2 separate regions of the Homo sapiens genome follow, and region 1 is linked to region 2. Evidence: promoter capture Hi-C in human tissues and cell types (Jung and others, 2019). All regions are on one chromosome and are shown on one strand. The core of a region is centred on a gene start or on the middle of the fragment in contact, and the rest is flanking DNA. Distances in the headings are between cores, read along the strand shown.

The links. Contacts are between HindIII fragments. The study calls those that stand out against the background at their distance.
Region 1: a contact is called between a fragment that was not itself captured here and the fragment with the promoter of PCDHB2 in region 2, in 1 of the 25 tissues and cell types used here (H1 embryonic stem cells).

Annotation. Positions count from the first base shown.
Region 1 is chr5:141,459,040-141,464,144 of GRCh38, reverse strand. All of the region lies in intron 1 of PCDHGA1 (protocadherin gamma subfamily A, 1), which reads right to left. All of the region lies in intron 1 of PCDHGA2 (protocadherin gamma subfamily A, 2), which reads right to left. All of the region lies in intron 1 of PCDHGA3 (protocadherin gamma subfamily A, 3), which reads right to left. All of the region lies in intron 1 of PCDHGB1 (protocadherin gamma subfamily B, 1), which reads right to left. It also overlaps PCDHGA4, PCDHGB2, PCDHGA5, PCDHGB3, PCDHGA6 and PCDHGA7, and 10 more genes. Among named protein-coding and RNA genes, the nearest start is that of PCDHGC3, 14 kb to the left of the region's middle. The HindIII fragment of the contact is 8,589 bases long and covers 1-5,105 here.
Region 2 is chr5:141,090,998-141,096,122 of GRCh38, reverse strand. PCDHB2 (protocadherin beta 2) reads right to left here and starts at 1,508. Exons shown (of 1, transcript NM_018936.4): 1 at 1-1,508. The coding sequence starts at 1,332. It also overlaps PCDHB@. The HindIII fragment of the contact is 14,626 bases long and covers 1-3,418 here.

The sequences.
Region 1 (5,105 bases), core at 1,072-3,571, 370 kb before region 2:
TACAGGCGCCCACCACCACACCCAGCTAATTTTTGTATTTTTAGTAGAGACGGAGTTTCACCATGTTGGCCAGGCTGGCCTTGAACTCCTGACCTCAGGTGATCCACCCGCCTTGGCCTCCCAAAGTGTGGGATTACAAGCATGAGCCACTGCACCTGGTTTTTACAATGGAGTTTTATGAAGCTATTTTAAAAATGAAGATTTCTATAAATTTATATAGAATGATTTCCAGGATATATTATTAGTACAAAAAGCAAGGTGAAAACTTTTCCTTTCAGTCATGTGAAACCAGATATACCACTATAACAACTGGGAAGTGGATCAAAATGTGTGATAAAAGCTTTTAGACATTTGTTCAAAAGACAGTGCAGGATTCTAACCCATAAGAGAAGAGAAGCAGGCCGGGCGCGGTGGCTCATGCCTGTAATCCCAGCACTTTTGGAGGCCGAGGTGAGCAGATCACGAGGTCATCCAGACCATCCTGGCTAACACGGTGAAACCCCGTCTCTACTAAACAAAATACAAAAAATTAGCCGGGCATGGTGGCAGGCACCTGTAGTCCCAGCTACTCGGGAGGCTGAGGCAGGAGAATGGCATGAACCCGGGAGCCGGAGTTTCTAGTAAGCCGAGATCACGCCACGTCACTCCAGCCTGGGTGACAGAGCGAGACTCCATCTCAAAAAAAAAAAAAAAAAAAAAAAAAAAAGGAGAAGGAAATGAGGATCCGCAAACTAGGATCTCCATTTTTTTTGCCTGGAGACAACTTTCAGACTGTGGGGCAGGAAAGGGGAAATCCAAGAATAACACCATGGTTTTGCTGAGTTGAGGAATAGATATTAGAGTTTGGGGAGATTAGGAGATTGAGGCAGCCAGAATTTATGGGATAGAGTACTAAAGAGAATGGAGCTACACAAAGAACTCCAGGAATATTAATATGGATCCCCAAGTCTTTGGCTAAATAATAATCTGAGCATACATAGAGTGCACTGACACTTTTCTGCAGCTGGGCGAAGAACTGCCAGGGAGCTATTAGCTGAATTCTTGATGGTCACATAGGGCTGGAAAATGTTTGAATTTCATTTAGCCATAATAAAGAGACCCTGCTGAACACTCAGATTAATCAAAAAAGTCAGAATTAAGTGGTAGGTCTAAATTAGCCCAAGGCAAAAGTTACTACAGACCTGTCCTAACAAAGCTTAAAAACAAGCCTTGAAAAGATCAACCTGATCTGCAAAAAACATAATAGCCTTCCAAAACAAACTGCAATAGTTCTTAAAGAAAGACAAAATCCAAACACTCAAAAATATAACATTTACAATGTCTGCTGTCCAATAAAAACATTATTAGACATGCAAATAAGCAACAAATTATGACCCCAAGCCAGGAAGAAAATCATCATAGGAATTACAGAGGTGACAAAATTAGCAGACAAGGACTTTAAAACCTCCATTATAAATGTGCTCAAAAATTTAAAGAAAAATATGAAGATAATTGAGGATGGAAATGAAAGAGTCAAATGGAACTTCTAAAAGTGAAAAATACAATATATGAAATGGAAACTTCACTGGATGGGATTAGCAAATACAGTAAACACTGAAGAAGAAAAGATCACTGAACAACACTCTTACTAACTTGATCTAGTTGACAATTATAGGATACAACAACCACGAGAAGCAGAATACACAGTTTTCAGTTACACAGTTGTGTGTAAGCAACACTCACCAAGATAGACCATATTCTGTGCCATAAAAGAAATGTTAACGAATTTAAAAGAATAGAAACTATACAATGTATATTTTTGGATCACAATACAATTAAATTAGAAATCAGTGACAAATATATTTGGGTAATACTTACATATTTGGTGACTAAACAATACACTTTAGGCTGGTCATGGTGGCTCATACCTGTAATCCCTGCACTTTGGGAGGCCGAGGCAGGCGGATCACCTGAGGTCAGGAGTTCAAGACCAGCCTGGCCAACATGATGAAACCCCATCTCTACTAAAAATACAAAAAATTGGACTGGGTGCAGTGGCTCATGCCTGTAATCCCAGCATTTTGGGAGGCCAAGGCGGGCAGATCACCTGAGGTCGGGAGTTCAAGACCCGCCTGACCAACATGAAGAAACCCCGTCTCTATTAAAAATACAAAATTAGCCTGGCGTGGTGGCATATGCCTGGAATCCCAGCTACTCAGGAGGTTGAGGCAGGAGAATTGCTGGAACCCAGGAGGCAGAGGTTGCAGTGAGCCGAGATCGTGCCATTGCACTCCAGCCTGGGCAACAAGAGCAAAACTCTGTCTCAAAAAAAAAAGAAAAAAAAATTAGCTGGGTGTGGTGGTGGGCACCTGTAATCCCAGCTACTTGGGAGGCTGAGGCAGGAGAATCGCTTGAATCTGGGAGCCGGGATTGTGCCACTGCACTCCAGCCTGGGCAAAAAAAGTGAAACTCTGTCTCAAAATAAACAAACAAAATAACAAACTTTAAAATAATCCATGGGTCAAAGAAGAAATTGCAAGGTGTATTAGAAAATACTTTGAACTAAATTATAATGGAAATATAACATCCAAAATATTATCTTTGCAAAGTACACATCTGACAAAGGACTAGTATCCAGAATCTACAAGGAACTAACAAATCACCAAGAAAAATAAAACACAATCCCATTAAAAAGTAGGCAAAGGACACAAATAGCCATTTCTCAAAAGAAGGTATACAAATGGCCCACAAACATATGAAAAAATGCTCAACATCGCTAATCATCAGGAAAATGCAAATTAAAACCACAACGAGCTACCACCTTGGTCCTGCAAGAATGGCCATTATTAAAAAGTCAAAAAACAATAGATGTTGGTGTGGATGTGGGGAAAAGAGAACACTTACACATTGCTGCTGGGAATATAAATTAGTACAACCTCTATGGAAAACAGTATGGAGATTCTCTAAAGAGCAAAAAACAGATCTACCATTCAATCCAGCAATCCCACTATTGGGTATCTACCCAAAGGAAAATAAGTAATTATATGAAAAAGACACTTGGACACATATGTTTATAGCAGCACAATTCACAATTGCAAAAATGTGAAACCAACCTAAGTCCCCATCGACTAATGAGTGGATAAAGAAAATGTGGTATATATATATACACATATATATATATACACACACACACACACACACACATATATATATACATAATACATATATATACACACACACATATATATATATACACCATGGAATATTACTCAGCCACGAAAAGGCATGAAATAATGTCCTTTGCAGCAACTTGGATCGAACTGGAGGCCATTACTTTAAGTGTGTATATATGTATACATACATATATATACTTTGTGTGTATATATGTATACATACATATGCAATATGTATATGTACACATATATATACAATGTGTATATATGCTTATAACAATAGTTTATTCTCATTCAACTGTTGGTGGATATATAGATATATAACTGTGTTTACAGTTACATATGTGTAAACACAGTTATATATCTGTATCTGTCTATCTATCCATCTAACACAGAGAGCCCAGAAAAAACCCACACCTACATATGTCCATGGCCAAATGATTTTTGATTAAGGTGCTAAGATTATTTGGTGGGGAAAAGATAGCCTTCTCAGCATATTTTTCCAAAGAGACAATTGGATATTCCTTTGGAAAAAAATATGAATCTTCATTGTTACCTCACACCATACACCATACATAAACATCAACTCAAAAGGATTCATAGACCAAATTATAAATGGTAAAACTATAAAACTTCTAAAAGAAAATATAGGAGAAAATCATCATAAGTTTTCAGTAGGCAAGGAGTTTTTGAATAGGACATAAGAAATACAAACTATAAAAGAAAAAATAAATTGGGCTTTATCAAAATTACATCTTCTGCTCTTCAAAAGACACAACTAAGAAAATGAAAAGACAAGTCATAGTCTGGGATAAAATATCCACAAAATATGTATGTGACAAAGAGCTCACATCAAGAATATATATATTACATATATAAAAATCATATATAATTACATGTATAATTATTATTTTTTAGATGAAGTCTCACTCTGTTGCCCAGGCTGGAGTGCAGTGGTGCAGTCTCGGCTCACTGCAACCTCCGCCTCCTGGGTTCAAGCGATTCTCCTGTCTCAGCCTCCTGAGTAGCTGGGATTACAGGCACCTGCCATCACGCCCAGCTACAAGGATATATTTTAAAACTCCCATAGCTCAATTTTAAGAAGGCGTTCAGCTCAGTTAAAGATGAACGAATGCTTCAAGAAGATATACAAATAGACAACACATGAAAAGTTGCTCAGTGTCTCTAGTCAACAGGGAAAAACAGTTGAAACTTCAATGAGATAGTATCACACACCCACTAGAATTGCTAAAATTTAAAAAATTGACAATAGGAAGCATTGGTGAGAAAATGTAGCAAGCGGAACGCTTTATGCATTGCTCATGAAAATGTAAAGTGATATTACCATTTTGAAAAATAGTTTGGCAGCTTCTTATAAAGTTAAGCATATACTTCCCATTTCATATGACCCCCAAAACAATTCTGTTTTGGGGTATTTATCCAAGAGAAATAAAAAAAATATGCCTACAAAAATACTTGTACATGATTGTTCACATCACTTTAATTCAGAATAGCACTAAACTGGACACAACTCAAATGTCCACCAACAGTTGAATGAATGAACACATTGTGATATATCCACACAATGCAATACTGCTCAACAATCAAATGGAACACGCTGCTGATACACACAGGAACATGAATGAATTTCAAGAACTTTGGAGTAAAAGAAGATGGATACAAAATAGTATATGTTATAGGATTCCATTTAGATGAAATTCTGAAAGAGGCAACACTAATTTATAGTGACAGGAAGCAGACCAGTTGTTGCCTGGAGCTGGAGAAGTAGTGAATTGATTGCAAAGGGGCATGAGGGAACTTTTGAAGGTTATAGAAATGTTCTATATTTTGATTGCATGGTGGTTACACAGATGTAAACAATTGTCAAAATGCATTGCACTGTATAATTTTAAAAGGCAAATTTTATGTTATATAAATTATACTTCAATATAG
Region 2 (5,125 bases), core at 259-2,758:
GGAGACCAGCACGGTTATGTTGTGCTCGGTTTTCAGCCTGGGTGTCCCGAAGTCGGTGACGGTGATGGTGATGTTGTATTCGGATCTGGTCTCCCGGTCCAGGGCCGTGCTTATCACCAGAGTGTAAAAGTTCTCAACAGAAGGTTTCAAGAAAAAAGGAAGATCATCTTGGATGGAGCACACCATCCTTCCGTTGTCTCCGGAGTCAGGATCTGAAACGCTGAATACAGCAATGAGGGTGTCCTGCAAGTTTTCTGGGATCTGATTGATAAGTGTCGACATAGTTAGTTCCGGAGGATTGTCATTCAAATCCATCACTTGGACAAATACCACACAAGTTCCAGATAGGCCCCCACCATCTGTCGCCTGAATATTTACTGTGTATGTCTGGATGGATTCGAAATCCAGTTTCTGTCTTAAAAGCAGTTCTCCCGATTTTGCACTTAATCGAAACGTTTTGCGAATGTCTTCAGATGCTTGGGAAAATGCATAAGATATTTCTCCATTAGTTCCAATGTCTAAATCCCTGGCAGAGACGATGGCAACCTGGGATCCAACGGGGCTGTCCTCCGGGATCTGCACCTCATAGAGCAGCTTTGCAAACTCTGGGACGTTGTCATTGATGTCCACAACTTCAATCCGTACCAGGGCCGTGCCGGACCTGGGTGGACTCCCGCCATCTAGCGCTGTGAGGGTTAACCTGATCTCAGGCTGCTCCTCGCGATCCAGGGCTCTGTTCAGCACCAGCTGTGGTAATATTATGCCATCGAGACTGTCTTGTAAATTAAGATGAAAGTGGAAATTGGGACTGATTGTGTAATTTTGGAGACTGTTGGTTCCTACATCCAAGTCCTGGGCACGTTCTATTAAGAAAGTAGTTCCAGGAGTGATACTTTCTGGAATTTTCAAAAGTATTTCTTTGTCTAGGAAAACTGGGGAATGATCATTTACGTCCCTAATCCGTAGCTCCGCCTGAAAAAACTGCAAGGGATTTTCTAGTAACACCTGGAAAGGTAGGACACAGGGCTCTGTGGGGCCGCACAGCTCCTCCCGGTCCAATTTCTCATTTAACAACAAATCCCCGGTCTGCCTATCGAACTGCAAATGCATTTTTTTTCCTTTGGAAACGACCCTGGCCCCCCTCACAGCAAGTTCTCCTATCTCCAGCCCCAGGTCTTTTAACAAATTGGCCACAAAGGAGCCACTCTCCGTTTCCTCGGCCACTGAATAGTGCCTAGGCTGGCAACTAGCCTGAGCTATGCCCAGCAAAACAAAGAATATCAGGACTTGCCTTTGTTTCGGAACGCGCTCCTTCCCCTCTCCGGCCTCCATTGCTTTCTGGTCTCTCACCAAACGTGCTCCAGCTCTGGCTCACGTTGTCGCTAACTCTATCTCCCCGTATCTCGCTGATACTGGGATGAGTGGACAATCCTAGGGCCCGGATTTCCCGGAGCGACCGCCTTAGAAAGCCTCCTCTTCCTGCTTGCTGCTTCTTTAGCTGAGTATCTGGGTAAGGGAGCGTCGGCTGGGTGCTTTGTTTCTGCTACTTCTAAGGCTGCAGCGCCACCCCGCGTCTCTTCCGAGTATTTATTTTCTCCTAAACTTTAAGAAAATCCCAGTGCTTTCTTTCAGGCTGATGGCAATCGAAATTGAGTATTTTCAAGTAGTGTCTCTCAGTGTACCGAAGTCTTATTGGCGTTTCGAAAGGCTCTTCATTGCACCCATAGAGACAGGGCAAGAATAAATAAATCTTCACTTCCCTCACAAATCCAAGCTTTTTTTTTTTTTCAAACTGGAAAAAATAAATTTCAGAACCTGGAAGGGAGTGATCTCAGTCCTAGCATGCTTCGGAAAGAAGGCTTAGACTAAGAAAGTTCTATTTTTATTCAGAGTTTGGGCATGTGTGCAACTCAGTGGTGGTTAGATTACCATCATCACACTCAAACCCAGCTGAAAAACAGAGACCCAGGAAAAGCACAGAATCCAAATAAGAGTATTTTAATGGGCACTGAAATAGTCTCCTTACTCATATTTCTTTCTTTGCACTGCTCCCACTTCACATTTTCCTGAACTTTGATGTGTCTGAGCCTCATGAAACTCTCCAAGAGCAGCCAGATATTTCCTTATTGTAAATGTATCAATATTATTTTCCTTTCTAATGCCTAGGAGAACTTTCAACATAACCTCAATTCAATTACCACATCTAGCAAAGAGCAATTTCATAATATTAAATAGCCAGTAAATATTCCAGTTTCCCCAATTATCTTTAAAAATGTCTTTTCAGTGATGGTTTCTTCAATCTGCTTCCAAACAGGGTATATATGTCATTGTTTGTTGTTAGGTTTTTTAATTTTGTCTTTTTGTTTCTTTTTTAATGTTAATATAAAGAAGTTATCAAGCCACAGAATGACATGAAGGAAACTTAAATGCATATTTCTCAGTGAAAGAATCCAGTCTGAAAAGGCAATGATACTGTATAATTCAAATTACATGATACTCTGAAAAAGGCCAAATTATAGAGACATTTAAAAGACAAGTGATAGCTAGGAAGAAGAGGGAGGGGGATGAAGAGGTTAAACATGGGGTACTTTACGATACTACAATGGTAGATACATGACATTATGCCGTTGTCAAAATCCACAGAACTATACAACACAAAGAGTGAACACTAAACTATGAAATTTAGTTAATAATTTACCAGTATTGGCTCATCAATTGTAACAAATGTACCACAGTAATGCAAGATTTTGATAACAGGGAAACTTTGAGTGGGAGAAAATCGGTATGTGAGGGGAACTGTTTGTACTATTTGCTCAATTTTCTGTAAACTCTAAGGCTGCTTTAAAAAATAATTTTACTTTGGGAGGCCGAGGCAGGCAGATCACGAGGTCAAGAGATCAAGACCATCCTGGCCAACCTGGTGAAACCCCATCTCTACTAAAAATACAAAAAAAATGAGCCAGGCATGGTGATGGGTGCCTGTAATCCCAGCTACTTGGGAGGGTGAGGCAGGAGAATCACTTGAACCCGGGAGGCGGAGATTGCAGTGAGCTGAGATCATGCCATTGCACTCCAAGCCTGGTGACAAAGCGAGACTCCATCTCAAAATAATAATAATAATAATAAATATTAGGATGTGTCTCTAAAAGATCCATTGGGTTAAAAAATTGGGGGATGAAGAAAAAAATTAAATATATAGAACAGTTAAAAGAACTATACATAAACTACAACTCTAACCTCCATCCAAACTTAACAATTGTTTATATTTTACCATATTTGTTCTATCTTATTCTGTACACACACCCGCTTTTCTGATGACTTATATGAAAGTAACTTGCAGACATCATATTTCACCTCTAAATATTTCAGCAGGTATCACATAATTATAATATTATCTCATATAATCATAATGGTTCTATCATACCTAAGAAAATTTAAAAAAATTCTACAGTTATCTAAAATCCAGCCCCAATCAAATTTCACTGTCTTTCCATTATCTTTTCCTCAATTTTGATAAGAATTCACACTCACTCAAGTTCCTTTGACAAATGCACTTACTTTTTTAACTATTTGTTATAAGGAATGTCTTAGAAACTTTTTCAACCAACTTTGATAATTGTATTTGGCTATTAGATCTATTTACTCTAGAATACTCCCCCATCTTTAATGACATTAGATTTCTGAAGTGTCCAGACTAGTTGTTTTGTAGGATGTCCTACATTCCAAATTTGATTGTTTCCTCATGGTATCATTTAACCTGTTCTTCTATCCCCTGTATTTTCAGAAAACTGGACTGGATGATTTATTAAATGTAACAATAGCATAATATTTTAAAAAGCTCTCATTTATCATCTTGTAACTGGCTAAAAAAAGGATAATCACAGGTTCCTTTTCTTAACATTTAGAAAACAAATGCCTATCTCTACCTGTTGATATTATTTTTTGCTTTCCATGATTATTACTTTTATATGGATGTTATAATAATTCAAAATATGTTAATTCATTGACATTGAGCATTAAACAAATTCATTGAGGTGAATAACACCCAAGGTCCAAGTCTTTAAAAACAGCTTTTTATATAATCTGCAAAACCTGATTAGGGTCCGAAATAGATGTAGTGAAGATCAGTTATATCATACAGGCAAATTATAACTGGTAGGTTACTCGAAATTTTATATTTAACCAGGTATATGGCTATTTCCTTTGGACAGGTTTTCTGAACTAAAGCAGTTATGGTTAATTTGGGATAACATAAAGGAGAGGAAAATAGGTAATATGAAGAAAATAACATAATCTCTTCTCACAAGCTGGAGAATAGAAAACTTAATATCTAAGATATTTCAGAGGATACAATAACCAAGAACACATTAGGTTTTATTGTGAAAAAAATTTTAAAACCTCTCATGTTGTCATGTGTCCTCACAATTCAGAAGGTTTTACCCATCTTTCATTTCAATGCTATTAACACACCTAGAAATAGAAGTAAGTTTCTCTTTTTCAAAGATTATATAACCAACACCAATATTTTATATTCGTATATAGGTTTCCAGCTTTAAATGCATTATATCCGCTATGCTATTTTAAATCATTTATTTTCTTAAACCTTGATGAGAATACACCTTCCTTCTTTACAAATGCTCTTATTTTCTTAATCTCCTTTAATAAGGAATCATATATATTAGATTATAATTTATAGCATATTTATAAGTCTGAATGAAATATGTTTACATATAGTAATTATTTATATTATAATGAGGGGAATCTATTGCATAATTTAAAAATTATGTTATTACAGTAGGTTTAATTTCTTAGGTTTCGCTTTACTTTTCATATGCTGCACAAGCAGAGACATTATCCTAGGAGTCACTTTCATAATTTTGAAGATTCATTTAATAAAATCTAACATATTAAAATGTTACACAAATAATTTCATATACAGGAATAGAAAAATATTTTCAAAAACATACCAAAAATGAAAGCAAGTCATTACAGTCTTATTACAAAAGTACAGCCATTCAAAAACTAAATAAGAACACATTGTTTGAGTATCTGTCATAATTAAGCTTGCCTCTCTCTTTTTTGGACTAAAGGGTGATTTGATCTTTTGACTGCCATGAGATGAAAA